2 separate regions of the Homo sapiens genome follow, and region 1 is linked to region 2. The links are contacts of gene promoters, found by promoter capture Hi-C in human tissues and cell types (Jung and others, 2019). All regions are on one chromosome and are shown on one strand. The core of a region is centred on a gene start or on the middle of the fragment in contact, and the rest is flanking DNA. Distances in the headings are between cores, read along the strand shown. Region 1 has its middle 14 kb from the start of LINC01564. Region 2 holds the start of KLHL31 (kelch like family member 31).

What was found. The method cuts DNA at HindIII sites, captures the fragments that hold promoters and counts their contacts. A contact is called where the count stands out against the background at its distance.
Region 1: a fragment that was not itself captured here is called in contact with the fragment with the promoter of KLHL31 in region 2 in 1 of the 25 tissues and cell types used here (hippocampus).

The regions. Positions count from the first base shown.
Region 1 is chr6:53,612,612-53,616,133 of GRCh38, forward strand. No RefSeq gene overlaps it. Among named protein-coding and RNA genes, the nearest start is that of LINC01564, 14 kb to the right of the region's middle. RefSeq lists an enhancer at 2,800-3,522. The HindIII fragment of the contact is 4,534 bases long and covers 1-3,522 here.
Region 2 is chr6:53,663,971-53,667,538 of GRCh38, forward strand. KLHL31 (kelch like family member 31) reads right to left here and starts at 1,786. Exons shown (of 3, transcript NM_001003760.5): 1 at 1,631-1,786. The HindIII fragment of the contact is 4,897 bases long and covers 1-3,568 here.

The sequences.
Region 1 (3,522 bases), core at 246-2,745, 52 kb before region 2:
GTCTTCATGCTGAGTGACTAATTTATAAAAATGGTTTAAATTAGTCAAATTTAAGCAACATACTTATCTGATATTATCCCCGATTCTTAAAGTTTCAGGATTTCTTTTTTCATTTCTGCCTGCATTCATTTAGTTGTTTATATGATTCCCCTAAACTTTCTGCCAAATTGTATATTTACATTGAAGTCATCTTTCTAACCACAGTTCTTCAATTCCCTATTTAAACCATTGGGTTTAGAGGTGTTTGAGAATTCAGAACTTTTCAAAGTTAGAAGATCCTATTTATTATGTAATATCCCAAGTAGGGTCTGGGGCAGTACTCTTTAATCAAACATGAATATTTCTGCAACATATAAACAATTTACACTAAATCATATGAACGAAGACTTCAAATAGCCTCTCCTTGGGTCACATCAGGTTTTTGTCACAAAATCAGTTACATAAACTTTTCTGTTTTCATAGTTTTCTTTATTTTGTTTTTATATTTTGCAATTGTGGATTTAAAAAGATGGACCTGTGTACAATAACAATATGAGAAGAAATTTTAGAAGTTCTTTAGTTTACCTTTTTTCTCAAAGTAGTAGTAAGGACAGCAAAAATTAATGTGAATGGGTATTTATCCAAAACTAAAATTTTTCAGTATTCCATAACTTTCTCAATATTTAACAAATAATACAGTCATAATATCATGTGAGGCTGAGGCTATCCTTATATCTGCTCATGCCAATTCTCATCCCCTTTCTTTCTAAAAAATAAAGGCTAAACTAAAAATATTTGCTTCACCACAGTGTTGTGCAGCTGGAGGGGCCGTATGATTCAGGAGTATGATCCCATGAGATAGAAATAGAGGGTTTCTGTGAAAGCTTTTGGTTTCCTAACACAGGTCTCTCCCCTTCCCAACTCCCGCTTTCTTCTTCTCCCTGTCTTGAATACAGATGTAATACCTGGAGATGCAGCAGCTATCTTGCAACAAAGAAGTAATAAGCATTAAGACAAAAGCCTCACTCTAAGGGTGGTGGAGGTAAAAAAACAGAAACAGCAGCCTGTTGAACCTCCTTGGACTGCCCCAGACTTCTTGTTTCGTGGGGCAAACTTACTGTTTAAGCCACTGTTTTTGAGTTTCTGTTATTTGTAGCTAAACATATTCCTAAATGCTATAGTATGTCACTACCTTTTTTTTCTCATTTATTTAAATTTATTTATTTATAGACAGGGTCTCACTTTGTTGCCCAGGCTAGATTGCAGTGCACAGTCATAGCTCACTGTAGCCTCGACCTGCTGGGCTCAAGGGATCCTCCTGCCTCTGCCTCCCAAGTAGCTGGGACTACAGGAGCATGCCACCACACCCACCCAGCTAATTTTTTAAATTTTCAGTAGTGTTCCAAACTTGTGTGAGAGTGTAACCACCCAATAGTTTCTTCCTGCCCACTGCACAGACAAAATCAATCCACCAAGGCCAAGTCATTGCAATAAAATTTAATTGACACGAGGCCAGCCATGCCACGTGGGAGATGGAGTTATTACTCAAATCAATCTCCCTGAAAATTTGGAGGCTAGAGTTTTTCAAGGGTGGTTTGGGGAGCCAGGGAGTCTGCTTCTGGGTAGGGCCACAGGACTGGCTAGTGGGGTTTGGCAGGCCTGGGTGGAGACGTTGGTTCATTGGTCGTCAGAAATGCAGAAACCTGAAAAGACATCTCAAAAGGCCAATCTTAGGTTCTATAATAGTGATGTTATCGGCGGGAGTAATTAGGGGAGTTGCAATTTTTGAGACCTCCAGACTAATGGCTGGTAATCGTTTAAGTCTACACCTTAGCAGAATTCAGGCTCCTCTCATCCTAATAACCTGGTGGATGGATTAGCTTTCCTTAGCTTTACAAAGTGGTATAATTTTGGGGAAGCACTATTACCATTTAAACTCTAAACTAAATGTCTCCCAAAGTTATCTTGGCATAAGCCCAGGAATAATTAAGGCCAGTTTGGAGGTTAAAGGCTAGATGGGGGTTGGTTAGTTCAGATCTCATTCACTGTAATAATTTCCTGATTGTTATAATTTTTGCAAAAGTGATCTCAAGAGAAGAAAACTATGTATATGCATATGCATTTTTGTGTATATGAGTAAATATTTCTGTAGAGATGAACAAAAAGGTGATACCTAGCCTGGGCAGCAAAGTGAGACTCTGTCCAAATAAAAAAGTTAAAAATTAGCTGGTTGTGGTAGTGTGTACCTGCAGTCCCTGCTACTCAGGAGGCTGAGGCAATAGGATGGCTTGAGCCCAGGAGTGTGAGGCTGCAGTGAGCTATGATTGCACCGCTGCACTCCAGCCTGGGCAACAGGGAGAAACCCCATCTAAAAAAAAAAAAAGAAAGGTAGTATCATTGGTTGCCTTTGGGTAGAGAAAACAGGTGGCTGAGGATCAGAGCCAGGAGTGAGGCATGGCTTTTGTACATTTTAAATGTATTTTTAAAAATTAAATATATGTATCTTACTGTATGATTTAAATTATATACATTTCAAGAACAGACAAAATGAATTACGGTGATTGAGGTCAGAATACTATTAACTCTATGGGGAGATATTTACTGGAAAGTGGCATGAGGCGGTCTTCTCCAGCTAAGAGATCAGAGATATCCTCTATCTTGAATTAGATGGTGGTAACATAGGTACATGTATATGGAAAAAAAACATCAACTCCATACTACTATTTGTGCACTTGATGTACCTCAGTACAGTTTTAGAGCATATACTTTGAATAATAAGAAAGAAAATTAAGATAATTATTAATATTCTGTGGGCTTCTTGTTCACTATCATCTTAGTTCAAATTTCAACAATTTCCCTAATTTAAAGTTTTTTTAAAAGAGTTTTCATGTGAGAATGTGTATGTATACATATGAATGTCAATGCAGAGGAGATTTGTGGCCAATCTGTGGGTTATTTCCTATATAAAATAACCCTTCATTGACCTCACTTCATTGTCCAGTTATCACCCCAGTTTTTTACAGTCACGCTTTTTCAGCACTGCTGTGTGTAGGTGGGTATATGTGCCTAAACTCAGGACTAGTATACACCCAGGTATGAATAGATCAAGTCACATACTTAAGGATTTGATGTTGGAGTTTGCTTCTATAGCAAATGAATTTCTAAATATTAGCTCAGTGCAGCTTTGATGAGTGCACGATGAATCAGCAAAAGCTTAAATAAGGGAGTGTGCACCAATGACAAATTCCCTTTGCAAGGGAACTTTGATCTCTACTGGATGACTACCTGCTTCTGCTGTGCACTCGCTCTCTCCCTCTTTGCTTCTAGCATAACAAATACGTTCCCCTGCATTGAACGTGTTTTCCTAACAACAGTGGCGAGATGTGACAAGGAAACTTGTTTGGAGCAACGTCTGAGTCACAATAGAATTAGTATCAGGTACAAATGACCACAAAGTACAGGTGCTGAGTCACAGTGATTTGGGATTCTCTAGTAAAAAGGACATGTGGAGAACTTAACTTTTATTTCCTCTCTTTTGCTGGT
Region 2 (3,568 bases), core at 536-3,035:
GACAGTTATGAATACACAGCTGACTTTTGCTGTCAGAATTGTCAAAATCTGTTCCTACATTAAATCTCCCTGTAATATGGCCTTCCATATCTTTAGAATCTACTCATTATCAGATAGGGATGAACGAACTGAGACAAGGTTTCTTTACATGGGATCTATATGTCTGGGTCTGAACAGCTAGATTTAGCAAATAAAAATACAAGATGTCAAGTTGCATTTGCATTTCAGATAAACTATGAATCATACTTTAGTATAAGTATGTCCCAGGCAGTGTTGAGGACATACTTATGCTAAAAGTTGATTTGTAGCTTACCTGAAATTCAAATGTAGCTGGATGACCTGACTTGTATCTGGCATTCCTGATCAGGGCTGGGTATCAGGTGAGTCCATGAGTCCTGCGGAATAGTCTGAAACATACTGTGTGCATATGTTTATGTGTACTTTCCACACACTGGGCTCAGCGTTTTCATGAGATCCATAACCCGAAATAGATCCAAAATGACTGGACTGAGAATAATGCTGCCAAGCAATGGTACATAATTGGACCCTTGTCTGTAAGTGGGCAAGTCCATGTGAAAGTATTGCACTTAAATTCTTCCTGGCCCCAGCTGATCCCAGATGAAGACCCCCAGAACTGGTTATAGAAAAGAGTTGTTACTTCATATTTGAGAACATTTTCCTTCCCACTGCCCTGCACCCATGCTTCCTGGGAGTCCACAACAGGGTAAACTGGAAAGCCATGTGTGCTAAAGTGTCACTGTCACTCTCATGCCAGTATGAACTGGGATCCCAGAATGTCTTTTTGCCAAAGGGGCGAATCAGCTGCGCCTGCTCCCTGTCCTGGCCACATTCCTATCGCTGCATCTGTCGGGGCTCATCAGCCCTACCTCCAGGAATAGAAACCCTCCTGGCTTCTGTGGCTTGCCATTTTAAGTCCAACCTCGGGGTGGGGTGTAGGGGGGTGGTTTCCACTTCACCATTACACTTCCAACATGATTTTTAATATAAAATATATGTCAGCATAATGATATGTGCACATTTAAGACAAAAACCTATTTTTTAGCCAAATAACAAATTTTTTTTTTTTTTTAGGAAGGATATTTCCATTTCATCAATAGGTTATATTTCTGGGAATTCAGAGTTGTCTGAGTTTTGTGCTACAGATTTAGTTAAAACTGGTAACATTTCATCCAAACTGATCAGTAACAAATGTTAAAATGATTCTTGATAAAAATAAAGGTAGAATTCTAAACTTTGTGAACAAAGCCTAAGAATTTTCTCTCCTTCTCCTTCTCTATAAAGTAGTGAAAGAAAAATATATCTTAAGCTTTAGAGATTTAGAATTTTTGTTAGAAATTACAGGTGGTTTTACATTTGTAGGGCATCATTGTCATGCATTTTGTTACCGTGAAGTTCTCCTAACACGTTACATTTCTCAGATTTCAAAAAAATGTTTTCTGTCTCCCAACTTCAGATTAGGGACATGAACCACCTGACCCAGCTGTAGACTCCCTTCAGTAAAATAGCTCTACAACCACAAACACTCAGCCCACCCTCTCCCACCCACACATCCACACACACCCCAGGATCTAGAAGGCAGGAATTGGCGACTCTGGTCCCAGCTCCTTACCCTCCTTGGGTGAAGTGGCAGGTCAACTTGAGATGATGAAGTTTTAGCAGGAGACTCCTCTTGGGAAGGGATCTGTGGAGATAGAGAGAGGGAGAAGGAAAATCCGGTGGGGAGCCACCAGCAGCCACCTGACAAGACCCGGCTGCAGCAATTTTTAGAGTGACCCTTTGCCGTCCCACTGGATAAGGCAGGCCGAGCCTGCGCTTTGGCCCGGGAGCAGAGCAGCGAGCGCCCTCCTCTCCGTCTTTGGCCTTCAACTCTCCAGCCAGCCGGGGGCAGGGGGCGGGGCTCCGGTTGGTGGAGAGGGGTTGGGTTTCTTGAACTGACCAGCTGCTCAAAATGAAAAAGAAAAGAAAAGAAAAGAAAAGAAAGAAAGAAGGAAAGAAAGAAAGAAAGAAAGAAAGAAAGAAAGAAAGAAAGAAGGAAGGAAGGAAGGAAGGAAGGAAGGAAGGAAGGAAGGAAGGAAAGAAAGAAAGAGAAAGAAAGAAAGAAAGAAAGAAAGTCAAGAGCTCAATCAACCTGTGTGAGAGGAAAGAAAATTAATTCGATGGATGTTTAATTGTTGGAAGCAGGGATTCTAGTAGAGTAAGGAGAAGGGAAGGCTGTGGATTAAAAATTAGTTTTTGGAAAGGTAATTAGCCTGGTCACCTACGGTCTTTTGAGAAGATAGTGGTTATAAATAGCCTATTCTTTATAAGAGGAGCACGTATCTACCAGATATGGTACTTTCTACAGCACCTCACATGTGGTTCTAACATTATTAGGCTCATTTTAGAGTTTAATAAAGTGAGGTTTATGGCCAGCGATTTTCCAGTGATCACAGAGAGGTCTGAGATTAACACACACTCTAGCACACATGCAGGTTGGGAAATATCTACTTTGGCAACACTTCATGAGAAAAAAAATTCAATGATTATAATTGACTACAAATTTTAATGGGCACCAAGAGTGTGAAATGGTTGCTTAAAAAGTTAACATGATATTAAGCTACAATAATAGAAAAATAGATCATGGAAAATAAATGTTCTAATTATTCTTCATTAGTCAGATGATGTGTTAAGCATCACTTTGCTATCTTGGCACTCTGAGAACTTACTCTTCATCCTACAGAGATGGCTGGAACAAAAAAACTTCAGAGGCGGTGCATGTTGGAAACATCTGAAGAGAAGTATGACAAAGAGAGGACTTTTAAGATAAGTGAGACACCTGAGAGCAAGTGTTGTGGGGGCTGTTGTACAGCAAGAGGATTCAGTCAAAATTTCTGTAGCCTAAAATGTCAAAAATTTTAATGTGCAGTAATTCCGGGGAAATACCTTAAAATAAAGAAGAAGAGTGCAGATAACAGCTGGGCTCTAATGATGAAAATGGCAGCCTTGTAAAAGAGCCAGTTCTCTATAATTAGAAGGGTGGAAGTAAAAGAAGTTGCAGGACTGGTGTGACATTGAAGGGACTCTGTCTATGGCTGGGGGCTTGCACTGCATCATCTCTGAAATCTTTCCAACTCTAAGGCTCTGATTCTATATGTGCCAGTCTCCAGTTCACCTGAGACTCTCAATTCACTGGATAGCATCTGTCTATTGACTACTTCTGCTGGAATTCCCACCAATTTTTTAGTAGGAAAAACTATTTGGATTTTTTTTTTAATTCTTTGCTTCTACCCATAGATCTCCAGCACAGAAAGCGCCAGGAGCAAATCAAAGAAGCTTCTATTATGGTTTGCTTCTAAGAAATTCTACTTGGTCCCACCTCCTTGACTCAGGTAAAGGGTCAGAACCTTCCATCTTTGTTTGTTTGTTTGTTTGTTTTTTGTAGAGACAGGATCTCAGTATGTTGTCCAAGCTGGTCTCAAATTCCTGGTCTCAAGTGATCTTTCTGCCTTGGCCTTCAATCCCGTTTTAATTGTAATAAAAGTCAGCCTTATATCAGTATTTATGATAA